Regions from separate parts of the Homo sapiens genome. Here all the other regions are linked to region 1. Evidence: promoter capture Hi-C in human tissues and cell types (Jung and others, 2019). All regions are on one chromosome and are shown on one strand. Each heading gives the region's core, a stretch centred on a gene start or on the middle of the fragment in contact. The rest is flanking DNA. Distances are from core to core; before and after follow the strand shown. Region 1 holds the start of MAP10 (microtubule associated protein 10). Region 2 has its middle 27 kb from the start of SIPA1L2. Region 3 has its middle 11 kb from the start of NTPCR.

Evidence for each region. The method cuts DNA at HindIII sites, captures the fragments that hold promoters and counts their contacts. A contact is called where the count stands out against the background at its distance.
Region 2: a fragment that was not itself captured here is called in contact with the fragment with the promoter of MAP10 in region 1 in 1 of the 25 tissues and cell types used here (small bowel).
Region 3: a contact is called between a fragment that was not itself captured here and the fragment with the promoter of MAP10 in region 1, in 1 of the 25 tissues and cell types used here (heart left ventricle).

Annotation. Positions count from the first base shown.
Region 1 is chr1:232,802,856-232,807,809 of GRCh38, forward strand. It overlaps MAP10 (microtubule associated protein 10), which reads left to right and starts at 2,561. Exons shown (of 1, transcript NM_019090.3): 1 at 2,561-4,954. The coding sequence starts at 2,595. RefSeq lists enhancers at 2,356-2,953, 2,665-2,744, 2,954-3,550. The HindIII fragment of the contact is 7,984 bases long and covers 1-4,954 here.
Region 2 is chr1:232,654,731-232,659,684 of GRCh38, forward strand. No RefSeq gene overlaps it. Among named protein-coding and RNA genes, the nearest start is that of SIPA1L2, 27 kb to the left of the region's middle. The HindIII fragment of the contact is 3,190 bases long and covers 1,058-4,247 here.
Region 3 is chr1:232,937,094-232,942,047 of GRCh38, forward strand. No RefSeq gene overlaps it. Among named protein-coding and RNA genes, the nearest start is that of NTPCR, 11 kb to the right of the region's middle. The HindIII fragment of the contact is 4,223 bases long and covers 1,539-4,954 here.

The DNA.
Region 1 (4,954 bases), core at 1,311-3,810:
CCCAGGCGCTCAGCTACTGCACTGTGCTACTTCTCCATGTGTGGTGTAGAAACATGGGGAAAATATTTGTCATGGCAAAATTTTATTTGTTACTTTTGGCATTATTTACAAGTATAAAATATTATTCATACATTATAATACCAGTCATGTAGAGTAGCTGGGTAGAGAAGTTATTATCATTGCAGAAACTACATATTGCAGAAATAATGTCTTTATAGAAGAGGGACTTCGCTTTTTCTATTCATATGTAAGAGACATACAAGTGCTACTAGTGCACACTATTAACTTTACTCAAAAGGCTAACTACAGGATATCTTCTAAGAGGAATTTTGTCTACTGTATTTCTCTGGCGCACATGGACTCAATACCTCATTGCTTTTCACTTGTGATGATGTCTTTTTTTTATTGCTCTACATCATCTATCCATTGAGGATGTTGCTTGATATGTGTCCTCTGCAAGTATATAGCAAGATTCTCAAAGCCAAGAGAAGTATCTTGTAATTTTTTTTTTTTTTTTTAGATGGAGTCTCGCTTTGTCACCAGGCTGGAGTGCAGTGGTGCGATCTCGGCTCACTCACTGCAACCTCCAACTCCCTGGTTCAAGCGATTCTCCTGCCTCAGCCTCCCAAGTACCTGGGATTACAGGCATGCACCACCACACCCAGCTGATTTTTGTATTTTTAGTAGAGACGGGGTTTCATCATGTTGGCCAGGATGGCCTCGATCTCTTGACCTCGTGTTCTGCCTGCCTCGGCCTCCCAAAGTGCTGGGATTACAGGCGTGAGCCACCGCATCTGGTCCGAGAAGTATCTTGTATTTATATATTGCAATGAGACTTCTCTCTCACGTCTTCACACTAAAGCATCATATCCCTCCAGTTCTGAATTTCTCTTGAGCTTCACAATGTTCTTCTGAGCACTGAAGCAATATAATTTAACTATAATTTATAAAGCTGAATAAAGCGGTACATATATAATGCCCAGCAGCAGGTACCTCAAGCTTTACATATCTCAAAACTCAAAGTATTTTTTTCCGTCAAATCTGTGCCTCCTCAATATTTTCACCTTCAGTAGCAGAAGTTTTTCACCCATGACTTTTCTTTCCCATTCACCAAATTTTAAAATTCCTCCATCACAAATGCCTCTTCTGCCACCTCTTTTTAATTTCCACTAGTCCTGACCATGTGCAGGTCATAATTATCTGCCTCTTAGACCACTGCAGTAGTCTTCTAATAGATTGCTCTGAATCCAATTTCTAATTAGTAGAATCCATCCTTTGTATTCCTCCCCATGATACATTTCCAAATATTGCTATGATGTACTTATTCAATCAAAAAAATTTGGACAGAATATAGTCCAAATTCTTTACCATGGCATTCAAGGCTCTCCAAAAACTGGCCTTGGATTCCTAGCTGGCTAGCTCATTGAGGTTAGGAGTATGTTTCTTAAAATATCTGGATAGAGCAGCAAGTTCTGTGTGTCTCTGTAGATGTGTGTATATTTATGTACACACATTTGTTTTATTGATGGAATCATTAACATTACTCTCATGCATCATGATTGCTTAGCTGGAAATGTTGTCAAATAAAAAACAGGGCCAGACAGTAGTTGAAGTGGCAAAAACACTGTAGTCAGGAACTACTGCAATAAGAGAAAAGAGACCTCAATACAGAGCTGGGCTCAATTCCAATTACAGCATGGACAAGTGGGGATTTAAAGCCAAGGGGGCGTCAGGTCAAGTGGATGGAAACTTACTGATAGGGAACATCACGGGTGGGAGGGTTCTGATTAAGCAGGCCTAATAGGATTCTTGCTGAAGCCAGGCCAGGGTGGTCAGATACCAATGATAGAAAATGAAGAATTTGATCAGGTATCGACGGTAATCAGGTATGAAGGGTTGGGGGTTCTCTCTCAACAGCCGTAGCGAGACCTTTGCTACAACTCGGTGATCCAGGGTCCACAGGATTGGAAGCCAAGGTCAAGGCCTAGTCGGAAAGAAGGCTTAGATGAGCCTGACCAAAGTTCAGCCAAGGAGAGTTTTTGCCAGTGTATTCACACTCCGTGTGTGTGTGGTGTGTCTGTCTCAGTACTACTGTAATTGATGAGGCAGGGGCTCCCTGGCCATCCCAGCAGTGTCACCATCTTTTGGGTAGAACAGCAGACACAGAGATGGCCCACTGTGGACAGTTAACTAACTGGCTCTGTTTAGCATGGGAAAGGAAGGAGAGTCCTGATTTTCTTTCAATATTCCTCAGGTATATTGATCTGACCCCCAAGTTACATAAGATCTGCAGTGATAAAACCATTACCCAAAAAACTCACTGTCTTTTACCACTTATATCCTCAGCATTATCATCAATTGTCTTAATACAAGGTTGGTGGCAAAAAACGGCTCACAAGTATGCATACAAAGGGGCCAAACACATTGAGCAGCAAAACCCCCAAAGCAGACACCGCCCGAGACCCGCTGGAGCGCTTCCGCAAATCTCGCGAGATAGCAGGCAGCGATGCCTTTTGCTCCGGTTTCTCGTGAGACCCCGGGGCTTCAGCTTCTCGTTTGCGGAGCCCGCGGCGGCGTTTCCTGGGGCAACAGCAATGGCGGCCTCGCTGTCCGAGCGGCTCTTCTCGCTGGAGCTGCTGGTGGACTGGGTGCGTTTGGAAGCCCGGCTGCTGCCGTCCCCCGCTGCCGCAGTGGAGCAGGAGGAGGAAGAGGAGGAAAAGGAGCAGGGGGAGGCCTCGTCGCCGCGCGGTCTGTGCCCCGCCGTGGCCTTCCGCCTGCTGGACTTCCCCACGCTGTTGGTTTACCCTCCTGACGGCCCCGGCGCTCCCGCCGCCGAACCGTGGCCCGGTGTCATCCGCTTCGGTCGCGGCAAGTCCTGCCTCTTCCGCCTGCAGCCTGCTACCCTGCACTGCCGGCTCCTGCGGACCCCGCTTGCCACCTTGCTGCTGCAGCTGCCCCCTGGGCGCCCGACGCCCACCCCACAGCTCCTGGGGGCCTGCGACATTTCGCTGGCCACCGCAGCGCACAGGGTCGTGGGGCCGGCCGCCTCCGGATGCTCCCACCGTCACCGGGGACGTTTCCCCCTGCATAATCGAGTGGGCGAGCGGACTGGGGACATTGCACTGGCCTACCGCCTGACTGACCTGGGAAGCCGCCTGCTGAGCCAACTTGAGCGGCCCCTCACCTTCACCCGCACAGGAGGAGGAGCGGAGGTCAGTCCCCAAACCCAGCAGGAAAGACAGCAGCTGCAGCAGCCAGCCTCACAGCCAAGCCCAAAAGAGGCTGATAAGCCGCTGGGGGAGTTAGAAATCCCAGAGGCACAGAAGGATTTGAAGGAAATGGTTAAAAGTAAGGCCGAATGTGATAATGTGGGTTCTGTGGAGAATGGCAAAACCAATTCTGTTGTTACATGTTCAGGTGCTGGCAATGGGAGAAATGTTAGCTCCCTAAATGAGGAAGTCACAGAATTGGACATGGAGACCAATATATTTTGCCCTCCTCCTTTGTATTACACTAACTTGACCCAAGAAAAACCGCCCCCTGCACAGGCTAAAATCACCATTGAGCCTCAAATGAATGCACCTGAGGAAATGGATGATGCTTCTCCTGAAAAAAAGCGTGTAAATCCCCCAGCACACAGGAGTTGTCTAAAGCATCCAAGTTCTGCAGCACACGAACATCCTCCAATGCTTGTAAATCCTCCACATATTCAGAATATAGGAGCAACTAATCAAACATGTCAAACTGAACAAAATCGAATTAATACAATAAGGCAGTTGCCTTTGTTAAATGCTTTGTTAGTTGAGTTGTCCTTGTTATATGACCAACCTGTGACAAGTCCTGCTCATATACATCCTCACCTAGCCTGGTTATATAGGACTGAGGATAAGAAGTCACCCGAATCTTCTGCCAAATCCACATGCCGGTCTGAAGCCAAGAAGGATAAGCGTTCTGTGGGGGGATGTGAAAAGTCAGTGAGTCTTCAGTATAAAAAGAACCAAATTGAAAACTATAAGGAAGATAAATATTCTGAAAAGAGCAGTGGTGCCCTCCATAAAAGAGTTCCAAAAGGGAGGCTACTTTATGGCTTAACAAATACACTAAGACTACGTTTAAAGCTGACAAATCCTGATATGTTGGTGGTACATGAAAAAAGAGAACTATATAGAAAAAGACAATCACAAATGTTGGGTACAAAATTCAGAATTCCGTCATCCAAAGTTAAACTATTAAGCTCTGCAGAACAAAGTCAGAAGCCACAACTGCCTGAAGATAAGTATTTAGATTCAGATGCATCTTTCACTGAAAATAGTGATACCTCAAGACAAATCAGTGGAGTTTTTGATGAGCCCAGCACAAGTAAAGAAACTAAACTGAAATATGCAACTGAAAAAAAGACAGTTGATTGTAGTAAAAATAGAATCAATAATGTTTCATTGGAAGAAGTTGTGAGTCCTGCAAATTCCATTATTCCAGAAAGGCTTACCCCTACAAATATTCTGGGAGGAAATGTGGAAATGAAAATCCAAAGTCCATGTGTTTTCCAACAGGATGCTGTTGTTGACAGAATTGTAGATAAGGAAATAGATATTAGACAGGTCAAAACCACAGATAATGACATTCTTATGGCTGATATAAGTGACAAGAGAACAGGTAAAAATAGTTGCTATGAAAACATCTCAGAACTGAAGTATTCAGATGATTTGTCTAGCCCTTGCTATTCTGAAGATTTCTGTACCAGTGAGGACACCAGCAGAAGTTTCAAAGCTCATGATAGCAGTTCAAGGACAGAAAATCCAAAACATAGTCAATATACAAGCAAGTCTAGTGACACAGGAGTGTCCAAAAAGAAAAATAGTAGTGACAGGAGTTCTATCCTTAGCCCACCTTTTTCAGCCGGGTCACCTGTACACTCATACAGAAAATTTCATATTTCAAAGACTCAGGATAAAAG
Region 2 (4,954 bases), core at 1,403-3,902, 150 kb before region 1:
CCATCATCTGTGTGTCTGTGTGTGACTTTTGTCATATGAATGATGGCATCAAGTCACATGAGGCATACTTTTTAAGTTCTCTTAGATGATAATTTGGGACAATAGTGATTGGCTGCCAAAGTTTACAGAGTTGATACAGGAGTGAGGTCTAGTATGCAGAAATGTTTTAGATTCAAAATCAGAACTCATAAGTGCACTTTTAAAATGAGAATGTTCTTCTGATACTCACTGCAGTTCCCAGTAAAGAAACTGACACCCTGAGAAATGACACCATTTTCTCAAAGGCACATGGTTAGGCAAGGTCATGGAGTGGAGGCTTTTGACTCCCCTGGCAGTCTTTAACCTATACAATTTCTCTCCACCCCCAGCCCATCTGCTGATTCTGGGCATGGCATCTGTATTTGATCCAGCTTCTCAGAGCATATCAACTGTAAGCCAATTGGATGTAAATATAAAGAGAGCAGAAAACTCTTTTACCAGGCAGCTGGAAAGTTTCACTTGGAATTTATTTTTAGCATCTTGTGTGTGCTCAGGAGCAACCATGGCAACAAAGGCACCTGGAAGAGCCCCTTAGAGGGAAAAGAGATAGCACCAGAGGGACGCTGCCTCATCTCCATGGGTAATCGGTGACAGGCTGGACATGTCCCTGTCACTAGGAAAGCCATCACCAGAGAAGAATAATCTCAGAATCAGCAGGGCTCACCTCCACTTAGGGAATAAATGACTGATGAGATCATCTACGTGAACCTGTCTTCCCTCCCCTTCCTTACCTTCCTTTCCCAGCACTGATACAATGTGTAAATACAGCTTTAGTTTCTGTCCACTTTGAGGTCTGATCATATGTCATGTTTTATTTACTACGGTCCTTCATGAAACTTCGAAACCACATAGCCACAAGAGAGGAAATGAACCCTTCAAGACCTCAGGCTACCATGCTGTGAATGGCTTCAAAGGCATTCATTAGTCTTTATCATCTCAGCAAGGACAAAGTCAGAAGTTCAGCCTCTTTTCTCTCAAAGAACAGGTGAAAAGAAAGCTGAGGGCAGGATGGTGCAGGAGAGAACACACCAGCCAGAGAGAAGCCAGGGCTGCAAGAGACTCCGCAGTGTCTGGTGAAAACTGGAACTCAAACCAGCTTTATACATTTCTCCTTCCCCAGGTCAAACACTTACCAGGAGGAAGATGACATTAACTCGTGGTAAAGAGCCCGGGGCCAATTCAAGAAATTCTTCCATTTTTGAAATTCTCTGTCTAGTTCTCTGAATCCTGGCAGACTCCAAGAGTGATTTTTTTTTTTTTTTTTTTTGAGACAGGGTCTCATTCTGGTGCCGAGGCTGGAGTACAGTTGCTTGATCATGGCTCACTGCAGCCTTGACCTCCTGGACTCAGGTGATCCCCCCACCTCAGCCCCACAAGTAGCTGTGACTACAGGCATGAGCCACCACACCCAGATAATTTTTGTATTTTTTGTAGAGATGGGATTTCATCATGTTCCCCAGGCTGGTCTCCAACTCCTGGGTTCAAGTGATCTGCCTGCCTCAGCCTCCCAAAGTGCTGGGATTGCAGGTGTGAGCCACTGTGCCCAACCGCCATGAGTAATTTATCCATGTCACAGTTCCCATGCTTGAGACAAGACTCTCAGCTTTCTGACCTGCACATTCAAGACCCACCCCTATGTCATTTCTTCTCTTACATTTTGTAAAAATGCAGTTCTCTCCTTTTTGCTTTTTGGGAAAATATCCGCACTAAACATATCTAATGTTCACAGTTTATGAAAGGGTAGACCCAATGAAATAGATATACTTTAGCTTAGTCTTGGTCATTTAGCATTTCTCTGCCTAGGTGCTTTTTCACAAGGACTTCAGAAAATGTTGAATGTTTCTAGTTAAATTTGGTACATTTCCAAAGAATATAGATACACATTGCATTGAATTTGCGGTTCAATGTTATCTTGAAACGTGATAGTGACTGATAAAGTGTTTGCCACAAGCATGTCTTCTATAATTTTAAACACATTTCAATAAAATCCAAAGTTTCAGAATGATATCAGTACACCGAATTGGGCCCGTCTACAGTCCTCTTATTCAATCACATTCAAGACCTAGGACAGTGTTGTTCACAACGAGGTATTTAATAAATAATAAATAGAGCAGGAAAAGAAAACCATCATTATAGTCACATGGCTGGAAAGACCTCTATTGATCTTTACTTCCCCACAAAACCACATAAATATATAATGGTGTTATTGAACCAGCTTCCACCAAGCAAATGAACTATGGCATTTCTAAGAGATATCCATATTATTACGGAAAAACATCCTACAGATAAAATTAAAAGCAAGTCTTTTATTTGACCCCAAACTAGGAAAGACTGAGGGAAAGATAATCAATTTATGCTTATTTTCTGTTCCTAAAAAAAATTCTATGAAGCATTGTTGATGCTCAGAGTTGGGAGAAATGAAAAAAAAAATCAGTGATTCATTTTTCCCCCATAAACTTGCAGCCGCAATGTACAGATCCATATTATATTGGGATAAGTCAATCACCAATCTAAATTACTAGGTAACTACTATGTACTTACTAGAGACTAAGCCCAAATGCAGAATAAAGGATGGCCCAGGGAATAAATTCTTAGTGCAAAGAAGCTGCTGTAAACTTAGAAGCAGGAGCCCACTTCTAAGGGCTCCCCAGGATCACAGTGTTCGAAGGATCATCATTCACAGTAGCTACAGTCCAGGTGCAGATGAGGGCAAGCAGACATCGAGGCTCGCAGTACAATATACACATTCAGAAGAGGTTCTGTTTCAGGAGAAATGATGCAAGACATTGGTTCTAAACTCTCTTGGTTTCAAAAGAGGATCCTGTTCTTAATTTAGAATGTTTGTAATATATGCATTAGAAAGGAAAGCTTTGAATAGAAAATAAATTCCCCTCTGTATTGCTGATTGGGAAATGGCCACCATATAATCTCTCCAGGAATGTGATGAAATTGCACTTCCAGTTGTATTGCTTTCCCTGCCAAAAATGAAATCCTTCTTTTTAACTGATTTTTCCTCACAATAGATAACAGACAACTTTGAATTCTACATAAAAATAATTATGGAAACAATTTTAAAAGACCTATTGCAATATCTTCAGATCAATTCCAAGTGAACAAATCATGGTGACATTTGCTTGGCCATGTGACATGGAGGCAGTTGGTATCAGACTCAGCATCTTTATGCTACACAGTAAGACAAAATCTGAGCTCTTAAACTTTAGACATGAAGGAAAAAAACACACACACACACAGCAGCCCAAATTGAGAAGCTGAAGACAGCCTTCAGGAAGATATAGGTACTATGTATCTCACACCTAAATGTCCTCCATAAATAGATAATATGATTGATCCAGAAGTAGACTGTGCTGAAGAAAAGAAGAAGAAAATGAACTAGATAATTTTCCAAAGCCTCTCATCCACCAGCCCTTCCCCTAAACCTGAGGGCTGCACACTTGCTTATGCTATCTTGATCTCTGCCTTAGAGAAAGAAGCCTAGGGGGACAATTTCTCTTACGAAACACATCACAGTTCATCTCTTCTTTGCAAGGATTTATAACAAGAGAAAGAGACACATTTATTTTCTTGTAACTGTAGGCAGCAAGACATCATTGAAAATGCATGAGAATTGCAGTTGGTAAATCTGAGTTCAAGGTCAGAGGGGAAATTTCATCTCTCTGAGATTTGGCATACACATCTGTAACCAGGGACTAATAATTCCTACACAGTGGAGATATCTTGAGAATTAAAGGTCCTAAGGCCTATGAAAATGGTATGCAAACGTTGATCTAGAAAGGACCAGGGAAAATCATCTTGACCACTCTAGCTCTCGGCAGGATCACATCTCAGTTTTCCTGGACTGAATTAAACAAGTTCAGAGAAGGAACTAAAATGGAAAGTGTTTGATAACATTCCAAAGGCACAATACATAAATTCTTATATTATAGCTTCAGTCCCTGTGGCTTTCTTTGCATCTCAGTGAAGATGGAAAATTTACCATATAATTAATGGCTTTTGTTTTCACGAAGCCTGTAGTATCACTTCTCAGCCATTTCTTTTAGAAACGGAATACTGCCAAAACTTTAACTGTTCCTTAAAACTGTGTTTGGAGGTATGCTGTACACTCTCTCCAATTACTCTAGCTCATTTTTTTCTGGGACTCAGAATTCTGTTAGTATGGATTCAGGTCCCGTTCTGATGCAGTACTTTATGGTTCCTACTTGGGATGCACTCAGCCTTTTTATCCTACTGATAGGACATCAGCTCCTTATCTACTGTAGCCCCTCAATCTTTTCCTGCCATTTATGTATATAGAATTGTTTTGTCTTGTATTTATGCATTTTCTCTGCCCTTGATGTACTTTTCTTAGTTCAAGTTGCCGGTTTATTGAAAACACAATAAATTCCTATAGTCCTATATTTCAAGATCTCTGCCCCACATATCTTAGTGTTAACTGCGAAACCAATGAAGGATACTCTCATTCCACCATCCAGGGGTTATGCAGTGCTGGGTCTAGAACCAATATCCTGTGAGCAATGATTGCCATGAAATTTTAAGTTGGTATTGCTATTTTTAAAAGTCCTCTCTTGCACATGAATTCCCCACCATGTGTATGGTCATATAATAACTATGAGCTAAGTTAGCTCGTGTAGCCCTAGTATTTTCGTATGATACATAGACCAGAATAAAAGTCTCTGTGAAGCTAAGATACCAGTGATTTTCTGGGGTTCTCCCTGGCTTATTTTCATCAAAGAAAAGGACTTGATTGGCCTGACCAGGTTTGTATTTCATAAAGCTGCGTTGGTGGCTAACCAGGATTTTTATCCTCTTTAAGGCAATTTCAAAATGAGTTTTTCTGGGATATAAGCAAATAGTTAATCTTCACTGAATAGAGCAGATTCAACGCTGACTCTTAAGG
Region 3 (4,954 bases), core at 2,400-4,899, 140 kb after region 1:
TGCATGCACATCTGTGCATGAGAGAAGGTCTCCTCTCAGCTCACCCAGCATCTCCTGTGCCACACGCAGACTTTCAGCTGCTTTCCCAATTCAGTGCACAGAGCCCACATAAAGGGTTATGGCTATGCCTTTTCTTTAGTGACAGCCATTTTCAGGGCAATTACTGATCCGCAGTGGTAATGGATCTAAAGATGCCTCGATACATTTGAATTTCAGCAAAGCACTCGGTAGTCACATAGGGAAATGAAATCAAATCAAGTTATGCATTAGAACAGGCCAGAAGATGTCCTTCCTTCACCCGATACAATGCATGTGTAGGGCATGAGTGTCCTTATTCCTGGCCATGCCTGAATCCCACAACATAATGTGTTTGTGTGTGTGTGCGTAGAAGTGGGGGTGTATATGTGCATATTTTCAAAAATGTTATTTATAATTTGGAAGACACTACATACAGAAAAGTATTGTGATGAAATTTAACTCATTTTCCCACAATTCACCCACATGACCATTACTCTTTCTGATGACTTTTTTCTGATTATTTTATGCAGCTGTTTTAAATTTTATTTTTATACACTTGTAATTACATTGCACATGTAATATCCTATGCTGTTTCGTGTACTCCACATTATTTCATAAGCATCTTTCCATCCTATCAGTTAGACTTTTTTTCTGATTGCCAAGGACTCTAACGATACTGAGACTTTATAATTTCATATGCCCCGAGGCAGGGCTGGCTTTGGGTGAGAGTAATTCGGTGGCTCAAACAATTACAAGGAACTTGGCTCCCTTTGTCTCTCTGCTCTGGCTGGACATGTGCTATCTGGCACAGAAAGAGGCAAACTCTGTCTCCTATTCATAAGGTGGGCAATTCCCCAAACATAGGAAAGAGTTTAGATGCTTGGCGGCTAAAATGAATGTTAAATTTGTACTATGATATTTCATAAGACTATTGTGAAATGTTGAATGAGACAATATGTGTACATGCTCAGCACAGTGTGTGGCATGTAGGAAGTGAGCCTGATAAACTTTCAGTTTTTTGATAATGATGATAAGAGAAGGAGAAGCTGCTACTTGAGGATGATGAAACTCTACAAGCCTCACTTGTATCTCGACACATCAGGGAGAGGCAACAAGCACTTAGGCTCACCAGCAGGTCACTGGGTCAATTTAGAAGGAATACAGGAACAGAGGGAGAAGCTAAACAATGCCGTGGTGATATAAACACCAAAAACTGTGTGTTCGTATCTGCTGTGAAAACCGTACAGGACAAACCACTGGTTTCTTTAACAAAGAAACTAAGGAAAAAAGATCAGATGAAGGAGGTCTTTTATATTAACGGGATACAAAATGCATCACCAACTTGCAATGTATGAACCTTAAGCAGATCTAACTCAGTGCACAAGGGTCCTAATTGCTCCGTATCCTCATCAACACTTGTTATTTTCTGGGTTTTGTTTGTTTGTTTTGATAGTAGCCACCCTAGTGGGTGTGAGGTATCCATAGTGTTGATTTTTATACAGATTTTACTTGTATCATTAACTAATTGTGTTATGTGCATTGATGTGTTTTTAAAATTAGATTATAAGTATTTTTAGGGCAAAGACCCTGTTGTATACGTCTTTTATTACCCAAAAATGCCTAATAAGCACTCTGTACTTACTAGAGGTGATCGGTATGATTGTTGACACTGCAATTCTATCTGTTCAGAGTGCTAGTGTGTGCAGTAGACTGCTACTATACGTTTGTAATTTTTTCCCCCAAAGACCTTTAACACAAAGGAGGAGTTCAAAAATGTTCCACTGAAAAATGAACTACGGAGTTTAGAAATTCATTTAATTAGCAAGCATTAATTGAACATCTAGATACTGGGAATTGAGTAGTGAATAAACCTCATTTAGTTCCTCTCTCATGAAGGTTTTTTCATTTTAGCAGAAGTGGAAGTCATTAAATAAATTTAAACAACTCATCATTCAATTACAATCATAAGTGAAATGAACTAGAAGTTCAGGAGGCTACAGGACGCTTGGTGTGGAGGCAAAAGCAGCTCCATCTTGGATGTTCATCCATCCGCCATGTTGACTTCTGATTAACACTCATTCCAGGAATACCTCTAAGATTTCTACTTCCTGCCGGGCGCGGTGGCTCAAGCCTGTAATCCCAGCACTTTGGGAGGCGGAAGCGGGCGGATCACAAGGTCAGGAGATCGAGACCATCCCGGCTAACACGGTGAAACCCCGTCTCTACTAAAAATACAAAAAATTAGCCGGGCGTGGTGGCGGGTGCCTGTAGTCCCAGCTACTCGGGAGGCTGAGGCAGGAGAATGGTGTGAACCCGGGAGGCAGAGCTTGCAGTGAGCCGAGATCACGCCACTGCACTCCAGCCTGGGCGACAGAGCGAAACTCCGTCTCAAAAAAAAAAAAAAAAAAAGGTTTCTACTTCCACCTACTTACTGTGAATGCTGCTCTTAGGTCAAAACAACCTTGATGTTACTGTAAACACATATTTACCATAAATCCTGTCCTTAGGCAAATTCCTTATGCTATACAAGCCCTGGGTCTGGCAGTAACATGCAGGGATCCACCATCACATCTTGCAGCCACCTAAGACAAGGTTTCTGTTCCTAAGTCCCTAGTAAATGCTTCTTGATGGGAAACTGGATTTGTCAGCCTCTTTCTTTGGCTTCTCAGCTCCCTTGGCCTTTAGGGGTAGGTTTGCACAGACCTGTTCACTATGAAACACTTGGTGTGTTCTAGGGGGTCAGGAATGATAAATACATGTTAGCTAGGGGAAGATGATATGGGAGAGAGCCTTTAAAGTGGCAGAAACAGCATGTGCAAAGGCCCTGTGACAGAGAGGAGTGTGGTCCCCTTGGGCATATGAGAATAGTTTGCATCTCCCCCATATGGAGCAGGAGCTCTAGGAAAGTCAAAGATTGGCCTATTGCTCCCATACAACAATGCCATCACCTCTATTCTCGTGCACTAAGGTTGTATGGAGACATTCTTAGCACCTTGCTAGACTGCTTCCAAGCACGACACCCAGCAGCCAACTATCCTTAGATCTTCAAATGTAAGGGTTCGTGGGGCAGTGAACAGGGTGAGGCACCAGTTATCTTCTTTTCCCAGCAAAGCTTTATGCTACTCTTGCCTCAGCTTGGACTCTGCTTATGAAATAAGGTGAGGGGTCAGGAGGTTGGGATCTCACGATGGGACAGGTCATTAAATAAGTGACAGACACTTGATTTCTATCTATCTGTCCACACTGGGGTGATAGAAATGAAAAATCTAGAATCCCTGTTTCACTAGCAGTGAACCTGCCCTAAAATGCCACAAGTTATTTATTAGTTAGATGCAAATCAATGTTTCACATATCCACACCACAGGTTTTGAGCCCACACATGGTGTTAAGAGGGGATGATGAAATTCAACCCAGGAGAAGAGTCAGTGCACATTGCCCCCTCTGGGAAGACTGATGATATACAATAAAAGGAAAAAGAAATGATTCCTAAAGTTCTCCCTTAATTTTCAGTCACAAAGCCTTTATCCACTTGTTGGGCAGATGGAGCTGAAACCATTCCCTTAACCAGGAATATACGAGAGGGCAAGTGAGGCTGTGTGGGGTGCCAATGTTGCTGTGGGGATGCACACAGCTAATTAAAACCACAGCCCACTTTCCCCTCACAGCACTCTGCAAACAATGTTGGTGATGATGCAGTCTGACCAAGTTAAAAAGCAATTAGTTTCCCCTGCAGAGGATTTACAGGGCAAGACAATGCACCTTGAATAAATACCATTGAGTTTACACCTACATCTGAAGACGGATACTTCATGATGTAGCAGATTCGGCTTCAGCGCAAGGACAATGACAGGCTCCCTCCAAGGACCTGCAGCCTCACACCCAAAGTGACTTGGGGGTGAGATGGTGAGCCTGCTTAGCCCCCTCGATTACAGATTGACCCAGTATTCTTGAAGTTGGCTTGCGTATGAGGACATATGTGATAGTAATCATTATTCTAGAAAGTCCTGGGGAGAATGAGATTAAAATCAGGCAGAGAGGGTCCTCCATTATTTCTGTTCTCATAGCTATTATAAGAACTATTTTAGAACTCTTATCACACCATGATATAATTCGTTCTCCTAGAAGAAGGAAGAGCAACCAGTGGACCATGTCTGCAGTCCTTGTGTGACCCTTCTTGTTTTGTGATATTGCCCTCAATTAGTTTTCTGGACAAAAGTTAAAAAGCTGCAACCATGAACAGAAGTACAGTGTAGAGGATGAGAGAAAAGATTCTGGTGCTCAAATTCCTGGGTTTGAAGCAAATGTCAAACACATACACACACACACACGCATATAGTCATGTACTGCATAATGGCATTTTGGCCAATGACAGACTACATATACAAGGGTGATTGGGCATGGTGGCTCATGCCTGTAACCCCAGCACTTTGGGAGGCTGAGATGGGAGGATCTCTTGAGCCCAGGAGTTCAAGACCAGCCTAGGCAGCATGGTGAGACCCTGTCTCTAGTTTTTTTTTAAAAAAGATCACCATACTGTGTTTTTGGCATATCTTTTTGTATTTAAATATATTTAGATATACAAATACTTAACATTGTGCTATAATTGCCCATAGTATTCAGTACAGTAACATGCTGTGCAAGTTTGTAGCCCAGGAGCAATAGGCATAGCCTATATCCTGTACCCTGTGGCCTAGCAATAGGCTATACCCTATAGTCTATTACATCCATAGGTGTAATAGGCTATAACACCTAGGTTTGTACAAATAGACTCTACCATGTTTGCACAGCAACAAAATCACCAAAGGACACATTTTTCAGAATGTATCCCTGTTGCGAAGCAATGCTTTGTGACGGTGTATGTAAATGCTTGTGCATGGATGGATGGATGAGTGAATGGATACAGCCTGCATCGCTGTGAATGGATACATGGACAAGT